2 separate regions of the Homo sapiens genome follow, and region 1 is linked to region 2. The links are contacts of gene promoters, found by promoter capture Hi-C in blood cells and fetal thymus (Javierre and others, 2016). All regions are on one chromosome and are shown on one strand. The core of a region is centred on a gene start or on the middle of the fragment in contact, and the rest is flanking DNA. Distances in the headings are between cores, read along the strand shown. Region 1 has its middle 44 kb from the start of BNIP1. Region 2 holds the start of ATP6V0E1 (ATPase H+ transporting V0 subunit e1).

Region 1 (4,508 bases), core at 1,975-4,474, 200 kb before region 2:
GTCTCAAAGGAAAAAAAAAAAGAAAGAAATTGACATGGTTTTGATAATGTGAGCTGGACCACCCACCTGAATCCATTCCCTCCAGGTTTTTTACATGCATTCATATGTGTGAAATAGTGTGTCGGAGGGTCGTTCTATGTAATATTATTCTGTGGACTACGTTTGTGTAGCCACTACCACAATTAAGATCCAGACCAGGCTTGGGACGGTGGCTCTAAGCCTGTAATCTCAGCACTTTGGGAGGCCGAGGCAGGTGGATTGCCTGAGGTCAGGAGTTCGAGACCAGCCTGGCCAACATGGTGAAACCCTGTCTCTACTAAAAACACAAAAATATAGCTGGGCATGGTGGCCCATGCCTGTAATCCCAGCTACTCGGGAGGCTGAGGTAGGAGAATCACTTGCACTCAGCAGGTAGAGGTTGCGGTGAGCCGAAATCGTGCCGCTGCACTCCAGCCTGAGTGACAGAGCAAGACTCTGTCTCAAAAAAAAAAAAAAAAATCCAAACCAGTCCCATTCTTACACAGGAACTCTGTCAAGCTGCCTCTTTACACTCAGCCCTCTGCACCTCTGGTCCCCTGGCAGCCACTACTCCGTTCTTCATCTCAGTAGTTTTATCATTTCAAGAATGTTATAGATGGGTACACGTGACACAGAGATGGGAACAGTAAACACTGGGGATTCCAAAAGTGGGAGGGAAGAAGGGGGTAAGGGTTGGAAACCCACCTATCAGGTCCTATGTTCACCAGTTGGGCAGCGGGATCATTAGAAGCCCAAACCTCAGCATCACACAATATACCCATGTAACAAACCTGCACATGATGTACCTCCTGAATTTAGAGTTTTTGAAAAACGAAATATGATTCCAAGTGAAAGAAGCCAATCACGCAATATTGCATACTGTATAATTCCACTTATATGAAATGTCCAGAATAAGCAAAGCTACAGAGACGCAAAGTAGATTGTGATTGCCGAGGGATGGGGTGGTTGAGGGGGGAATTGAGGGATTAAAGGGTTTCATCTGGAGGCGATGAAAATGTTCTAAAATTGACTGTGGTGATCGTTATCCAACTCTGTGAAAATACTAAAAGCCACAGCATTGTACATGATAAATGGGTAAATCATATGTGAGTATATACATCAATAAAGCTGTTTCTCAAACAAGAATGTTATAGAGATGGTCTCTGATGGTATGTAACCACTTGAGATTGGCTTTTCTCACTCAGCATCATTCCGTCATAGTCCCTCTCAGCAGTTGCCCAGAGCAGTAGGTGGACCCTCCGCATTGCTCAGTAGTATTCCAGTGTACAGACATCCCAGAGTGTGTTTAACCATTCACCTGCTGGATATTTGAGTTGTGTCCCTTTTTTTTTGGCTATTAAAGCTGCTGTGAACATTTGTGTACAGATGTTTGTATGGACATACATTTTCATTTTGCCAAGATGAATACCGAAGTGAATGTTTCACTTTAAGTGTCTCTGTTATCCAGCACACCTCTGCTAAGAAATGACTATCTGCATCTGGGAGCAGTGGTTCATGCCTGTAATCCTAGCACCTTGGGAAGCTGAGGTGGGAAGATCGCTTGAGGCCAGGAGTTTGAGACCAGCCTGGGTAACATAGTTAGATCCTATCTCTACAAAAAATAAAAATGAAAAAATTAGCCAGTCATGGAAGTGTATGCCTGTGGTCCCAGCTACTCAGGAGGCTGAGGTAGGAGGATCGGTCGAGCCCAGGAGGTAAAGGCTGCATTGAGCTATAAGTGCACCACTGCACTCCAGCCTGGGATGGCAGAGAGATTCTGTCTCTATAAAATAAAAATAAAAGAAGTTACTCTCTGCAAACGCTTTAAATTTTGTGTTTTAAGGAACCATGTAGTTAGTCAATTTTCTAAATGGAAATCAGGCCAGGTATGGTGGCTCACGTCTGTAATCCCAGCACTTTGGGAAGCCGAGGCAGGTGGATCACCTGAGGTCAGGAGTTCGAGAACAGCCTGGCCAACATGGCAAAACCCCATCTCTACTACAAATTCAAAAATTAGCTGGACATGGTGACACATGTCTGTAGTCCCAGCTACTCAGGAGGCCAAGGTTGGAGGATCGCTTGAGCCCAGGAAAGTGAAGGCTGCAGGGACCGTGATCATGCCACTGCATTCCAGCGTGAGCAACAGAGCAAGACTCTGTCTCTAAAAAAAAGAAAAAAAATTACCACATTTTTAGATTATATAATTCTGATTCAAAGGTAAAATACAAAGAGGGGAAAATATATTTAACATAAAATTTGAATAAAATATTTTCCAAAATCTTAAGGAAGACTTACTTCCATAAAAATAATTTTTATGTCAGGCTTCAGGCTCAGTGGGCACCCGTGAGTCCTGATTTAATGAGACAAGCTTCAAATTCTAGGTTTTTTTTAAATGATTCTTCATCATTGATTGATTGATTGATTGATTGATTGATTGATTGATTTTTAAGAGACATGGTCTCATTCTGTTGCCCAGGCTGGAGTGCAATGGTGCAACCATGGCTCCCTGCAGCTTTGACCTCTGGCCCCAAACAATCCTCCCGCTTTGGCCTCCCAAAGTGCTGGAATTACAGGCATCAGCCACTGTGACCAGTTTCCTCTTCTTTCTGTTAAATGACATATCATCCCTTGAATGCAAGAGTTTCAGATTCTTAGTAATCATCATTGCCAAGAAATTTTGCTTTTACAAGTAAGTGACTTTTAAAAAGGTTTAAAAATTGTGTTTTTCTACCTTAAAATTTTTACAATGGTCAAAACTACACATAAAGGATCACCCTTTCTTTCCTTGGCAATTATGATATAGGAACTTCTTAGGATTTCTAATCCAGTCCAACTTTCTTTTTTTTCCTTTTTGAGACAGAGTCTCACTCTGTCGCCCAGGCTGGAGTGCGGTGGTGCAATCTCGGCTCACTGCAACCCCTGCCTCCCAGATTCAAGAGATTCTTGTGCCTCAGCCTCCCGAGTAGCTGGAGTTATAGGCATGCACCATCACTCCCGGGTAATTTTTTTTTTTTTTTTTGTATTTTTAGTAGAGACAGGATTTCATTATGTTGACCAGGCTGGTCTTGAACTCCTGACCTCAAGTCATCTGCCTGCCTTGGTCTCCCAAAGTGCTGGAATTATAGGCGTGAGCCAGTCCGATTTTTTCATACTGAGTATGTCACAATAATGCTGACACTCTAACTTGTAGAGCACACATGATTGACTGCAATGGTTGCCTGCAGGTGGCACAGTTACCCCTGTACCCCTACAGTCACCCAAACAGAAGCATCTGTGTGAAGACAGAGCAGGCAGCCCGGAGCTGGGCCTGCCCAGGCACCTGCCCTCATCCTTCCCTCCAACCCCTAGGGGGCCTCCCTTCAGTCTGTACCCGCTACTCCTGGGCACCTGCAATGCAAGCTCACCAGCCCCTGTGGCTCTTGCCCAAACCAGACAGCATAATGCCTGGCGGCTGGCTACTGTCCTCCACATCCAGGCAGCAAGCAGCTCTTTCTTGATGGCACTCAGGACCCCGCCTAGATCAGGGCATACCACCAAGGCTCACGGTGCTCCTGAGGCCGCTGGGGCACCACAGGGTGCTTCTCAGGTCCTGTCACTCAACTGGGCCTCCCCAAAGTGGGCTCACAGCCCAGGGGCTCCAGTTGCCCCAGGCTCTGCTAGGCTGCCCAGAGGACTCAAGGTGTGGATATCTCAGGCACACCTGAGTGTTGAGCTCAGCACACGTGTATGCTGGGCACGGCATGAGTGTAAGGAAGCGCTGGCATACAGAATAAAATCCCCTGGCTAGGAAGCAAGCTACTGCTGACTCCACCGAAGCCCCTGCACGCCCCTCCCAGTACCATCTCCCCTCGCCCCTGCAGAGGCAGACACCATCCTGACTTTGGTGTCTATTCTTTTCATTCGTTTCTTTCTATTTTACCACATGCGTATATATCCATTAAAATATGTAATTGTTTTTCATGTTTAAAACTTTATGCAAGGAATATTATTCAGTGTTAAAAAGGAAGGAAATTCTGACCTATGCTATAACATGAGTGAAGCTTGAGGACATCAGGCTAGGTGAAATAAGCCAGTCACAAAAAGATAAATACAGTATGATTCCACTTATCGGAGCCGAGTAGTCAAAATCATAGAGACAGGAAGTGAAATGCTGGTTGTCAGGGCCTGGGGGAAGGGGAGAGTGGGGAGTTGTATAATGGGGACAGAGCTTCACTTTCACAAGATAAACAGTTCTGAGGCCGGGTGCAGTGGCTCACGCCTGTAATCACAGCACTTTGGGAGGCCGAGGCAGGCAGATCACCTGAGGTCAGGAGTTTGAGACCAGCCTGGCCAACATGGCAAAACCCTGTCTCTACTACAAATATAAAAATAAAAAATAAAACTAACTGGGCATGGTGGTAGGCACCTGTAGTCCCAGCTACTTGGGAGGCTGAGGCAGGAGAATCGCTTAGAACCTGCGAGGCAGAGGTTGCAGTGAGCCAAGATCGTGC
Region 2 (4,806 bases), core at 308-2,807:
TCCCAGGGAGCAAAAGGGGTTCAGGTCACAAAATATTAGGGAAGTAGTAAAAATCTTTTTCTTTCTTTTTTTTTTTTTTTTTTGAGACGGAGTCTCGCTCTGTCGCCCAGGCTGGAGTGCAGTGGCGCGATCTCGGCTCACTGCAAGCTCTGCCTCCTGGGTTCACGCCATTCTCCTGCCTCAGCCTCCCGAGTAGCTGGGATTACAGGCGCCCGCCACCACGCCCGGCTAATTTTTTGTGTTTTTAGTAGAGACGGGTTTCACCGTGTTAGCCAGGATGGTCTCGATCTCCTGACCTCGTGATCCGCCCGCCTTGGCCTCCCAAAGTGCTGGGATTACAGGCGTGAGCCACGGCACCTGGCCAAAAATCTTTTTCTTTTAATAAAGACAATAGAACTATTCACTCAACAGGTATTTATTGGGTGCCTCCTGTGCATACAAGGTACTATGAAAACCAGGCACTATGAAGCCACCAATTAGGTTCAAGAATAAAGCAAGAGATGGTGTTTCTGACAAACTGACTTCAGTCGAAGTTTCACCTCTCATCATCTTGAACTGAGAAAAAAATGACTGAGAAGCAAAAGAGGAACCAGGAAGAGGGTGTTCCAAGGCTCCTTTGAAGATTAAGCCTCTATTTTATACTACAGTTAAAAAGTTTAATTCCAAAAGAGACAAAGCTCTAACCAACAAAGAAGTCTGGAAAAACAAAATCTTTCTTAGCCAATCATTCTAAGCACTTCTTACACTCACATACAAGAGCCGGAGCGCCCTCCAAAAGGCATGACGCAGGGGTTTCTCAACAATACCTCCTGCTCTTTGGTAATTAATCTCGCTTTAGATCAGGCCCCAACCGCCTCCTGGCGCCCACTAGATGCAAGGCCTGGGCTCAATGTTGTCGAAGGAGCTTGTTCTGTACGCAACCGCGACAGCATGGGAGGCAGAGAAGCCAATTTCTGTTTTATTTATTTGATCCTTAAGTTCAGGCAAACGAGGCCTCATGTGGGTGGAAGGCAGGGCTAAAGGGGGACAGTCGACTAGGGACAAACCCCAGTTTCTCCCAGATTCGGCCTGCTCATTTCCGACTGCACCTCCCCACACAGGACTATGATGAGAAAAAATTCCCCTGAAACTCGTTTCCAAGGGGGGTCCACCAAAGGTCACCCTCCACTCGCTCAGGCCGGAGGACACTGAAGCTGCTGCGAAAAGGAACACAAGGAGTTCCGCCGGGTCGGGGGCCTGACTCTGCAGCGCGGGGGGCGCCCATGCAACGTTCTCTGACCCGTGTGGGGGTCGTGCCTTTCCCCGCCCCGGCCTGCTAGCTCCTCACCGCCCGTTCCTCCCAAGGCGGGCCTCACGCACTTACCCCCGGTTAGGACCCTTAGGGATGAACCAAGGCACCAAGAAGCCGACGAAGCCCCAGAACACGCTCATCACAATGAGAGGCACAGTGAGGCCGTGATACGCCATGGTCGCCGCCTGAGCGCCAACCCCTACCCCGTCGCCTCACTCGGATCCCACCAGGAAGTGTCAATAGCTGACCGCGTGACCAGCGTGTGCAAGCCCCGCCTCCCGCGCCCCCACGTGACCCGCGCGCCGGCCTCCGCCCCTCGGGGAGCCCAGAGGCAGAGCCCCGCCTTCGCCTGGCTGTCTCCTGGCTGCAGCTCCTTGGAGGCATGTCGCTCACCCCAGAGCTAGGGATTCGGTCACCCGGGGCTCAGCAAAGTGTTCTGATGAGAACTTGGCCCTTTTAGACAAAGAGTGTAGTTATCTACAGCCTCATCTACTTATGCAACAGACATAGAGAACTTAACAATAGTTGTCCCTTACTATTCTGAATTCCCGTGTGCCTGGCACTGGGCCATGATCTTTAAGTTCATGAGCCCCAGGCCGGGTGCGGTGGCTCACGCCTGTAATCCCAGCACTTTGGCAGGCTGAGGCAGGCGGATCACTTGAGGTCAGGAGTTCGAGACCAGCCTGGCCAACATGGTGTAACCCTGTCTCTACTAAAAATACAAAAATTAGCTGGGTGTGGTGGTGCGCGCCTGTGGTCCCAGCTACTCAGGAGGCTGAGGCAGGAGAATCAATTGAACTCGGGAGGTGGAGGTTGCAGTGAGCCGAGATTGCGCCACTGCACTCCAGCCTGGGCAACAGAACAACACTCTGTCTCAAAAGAAAAAAAAAAAAGTGCATGAGCCCGTGTTGAACTCCTCACTTCAGCCTATGAGGTAATTGTAATTATTATCCCCACTTTGCAGTTGAAGAAACTGAGGCCCAGGGAAGAGGATAAGGATCTTGCCCAAAGTCACATAGTAAGTGGCAGGGCCAGGATTCAACCCCTGATTATCTGATTTTCAAGGCCAGAGCTCTTAACTAGCGCACCACTATTTATCTTGTGTGCTGTGCCAGGCTCTGGAGTTACAGAAGTCAATCAGGCACCCCTGAGGGAGTTCACATTCTGGGGAGCAGATGACCTTGCAAACAGGCGACTCAATGCAGTGTGAAAGTAAGTGGACGACCCTGCAAGGCTTTCTACCCAACTCGTCCTTGCTGAGCCTTGAAAGACAAGTAGAAATTAGCCAGAATGGTAAGAAGAAAAACAGGCCAGGCATGGTGGCTCACACCTGTAATCCCAGCACTTTGGGAGGCCGAGGCGGGCAGATCACCTGAGGTCAGTAGTTCAAGACTAGCCTGGGCAACATGGTGAAATCCCATCTCTACTAAAAATACAAAAATTGGCCAGGTATGCACCTGTAGTCCCAGCCACTCAGGAGGCTGAGGAACAAGAACCGCTTGAATCCCTGGGAGGCAGAGGTTATAATGAGCTGAGATCGCACCACTGCACTCCAGCCTTGGCGACAGAGTGAAACTCTGCCTCAAAAAAAAAAAAAAAAAGAAAGAAAGAAAAAGAAAGGTAAAACAGTTTTGTTTGTTTGTTTGTTTTTTGAGACAGGGCCTTGCTCTGTCACCCAGGCTGGAGTGCAGTGGTGCTCCATAGCTCACTGCTGCCTGGAACTCCCGGGCTCAAGCCATCCTTCTGCCTCAGCCTCCTGAGGAGCTGGGACTACAGGTGTGCACCACCACACCAGCTAATTTTTAAAATGTTTTGTAGAGACAGAGCCTCGCTATGTTGCCCCGGTGGGTCTTAAACTCCTGGCCTGAAGGGATCCTCCACCTCAGCCTCCCAAAGTGCCGGGATTACTGGCATAAGCCACCGTGCTGAGCTGATAAACAGGGCTTAGAACGCTTGCTGAGAATTTTCACATATGTTAGTTATAGTATGCGCCAAGCTTGGAATAGACAAGGAAGCCAGTTCTCAGAGAGGTTGAGGAGCTTGATGATAAAGCTTACAGGTGAAAGCAAGATAGAAAGCAGGTCTTTAAATGCAATGTGCTTTACCAGGGACCATGGTTTCCTTGCAGTAGCCACATTGCATTAACTCCTGATTTCTTTCATCAAGTAGAATGGATTCCTGTATTAAACGGGAAACTGGACCAATAATCTTCAACATCTGTACCAACTTTTCGGACATGATTCTAAGCCTTTAACCTGATCAGCAATGTAGAAAACTAGTTTGTCTCCTTTGTGCTCATAATGCTTCCCCAAAACTTAGCCCCAGCAGAAATCCTATGGTCCTTAAGTTCTAGCCCAAACACCGCCTTCTCCAAGACCCATTTCATCCTGTTAGCGCATCTCTTTGGCCTTGTTGTATATGTATCTTGACCAACCCTCTACTAGAGGGCCAACTCCTTGAGAATAGGCACTGTTTCACTGATCTTTGTTTCCGGGAGGACTTTATACATAGAATGTGCTCAATAAATAACTGTGCAACTGAATTGAGTAGCTAAGAAGGGATGAGGTCAGAACAAAATTAGAGAAAGAAGTTCATTTCTACTTTCTCCTTCCTTCCTTCCTTCCTTCCTTCCTTCCTTCCTTCCTTCCTTCCTCTCTCTTTCTTTCTTTCTTTTTTCTTTTTTTGATGGAATCTCACTCTGTTGCCCAGGCTGGAGTGCAGTAGCATGACAATGGCTCGCTGCAACCTCCACCTCCCTGGTTCAAGCGATTCTCCTGCTGCAGCCTCCTGAGTAGCTGGGATTTACCAGCGCCCTCCACCACACCAGGCTATTTTTTTTTTTTTGTATTTTTAGGAGAGATGGGGTTTCACCATGTTGGCCAGGCTGGTCTCAAACTCCTGACCTCAAGTGATCCGCCCACCTCGGCCTCCCAAAGTGCTGGGATAATAGGAGTGAGCCACCATGCCCAGCCCCTTTCTTTCTTTTTTTTGAGGCAGAGTCGTGCTCTGTCACCCAGGCTGGCATATGGTGGTACAATCATAGCTTACTACTGCCTTGAACTCCTGGGCTCAAGGGATCTTCCCACCTCGGCCTCCATAGTAGCTAGGACTACAGGCGCATGCCACTATGCTGGCCTAATTGTGTGTGTGCGTGTGTGTGCTTGTGTATGTGTGTGTGTGTGTGTGTGTGTATGTGTGTGTAGAGATGGGGTTTCACCATGTTGCCCAGGCTGGTCTCGAACTCCGGCCTCAAGGAATCCTCCTGCCTTGGCCTCCCAAAATGCTAGGATTACAGGTATGAGCTGCCGCAGTCAGGCCCTTTCCTTTTAAAAATGGTAAAATACAGGTAACATAAAAGTTACTATCTTAACCTTTTAATTTATTTTTATTAATTTATTTAGAGACAGGGTCTCGCTGTCATCCAGGTTGGTGTGGTCTTGGCTCACTGCAACCTTCGCCTCCTGGGTTCAAACGATTCTCCTGCCTCAGCCTCCCAAGTAGCTGGGACTACAAGC

Evidence for each region. Contacts are between HindIII fragments. The CHiCAGO score rates a contact against its expected background, and 5 or more counts as called.
Region 1: a contact is called between a fragment that was not itself captured here and the fragment with the promoter of ATP6V0E1 in region 2, in 2 of 17 cell types (total CD4 T cells and non-activated CD4 T cells). The highest score is 5.2, in total CD4 T cells.

What each region holds. Positions count from the first base shown.
Region 1 is chr5:173,186,408-173,190,915 of GRCh38, reverse strand. No RefSeq gene overlaps it. Among named protein-coding and RNA genes, the nearest start is that of BNIP1, 44 kb to the right of the region's middle. RefSeq lists a silencer at 3,154-3,273. The HindIII fragment of the contact is 1,672 bases long and covers 2,389-4,060 here.
Region 2 is chr5:172,980,522-172,985,327 of GRCh38, reverse strand. ATP6V0E1 (ATPase H+ transporting V0 subunit e1) reads right to left here and starts at 1,557. Exons shown (of 4, transcript NM_003945.4): 1 at 1,364-1,557. The coding sequence starts at 1,467. RefSeq lists a silencer at 1,503-1,682 and an enhancer at 1,448-1,742. The HindIII fragment of the contact is 8,334 bases long and covers 1-3,289 here.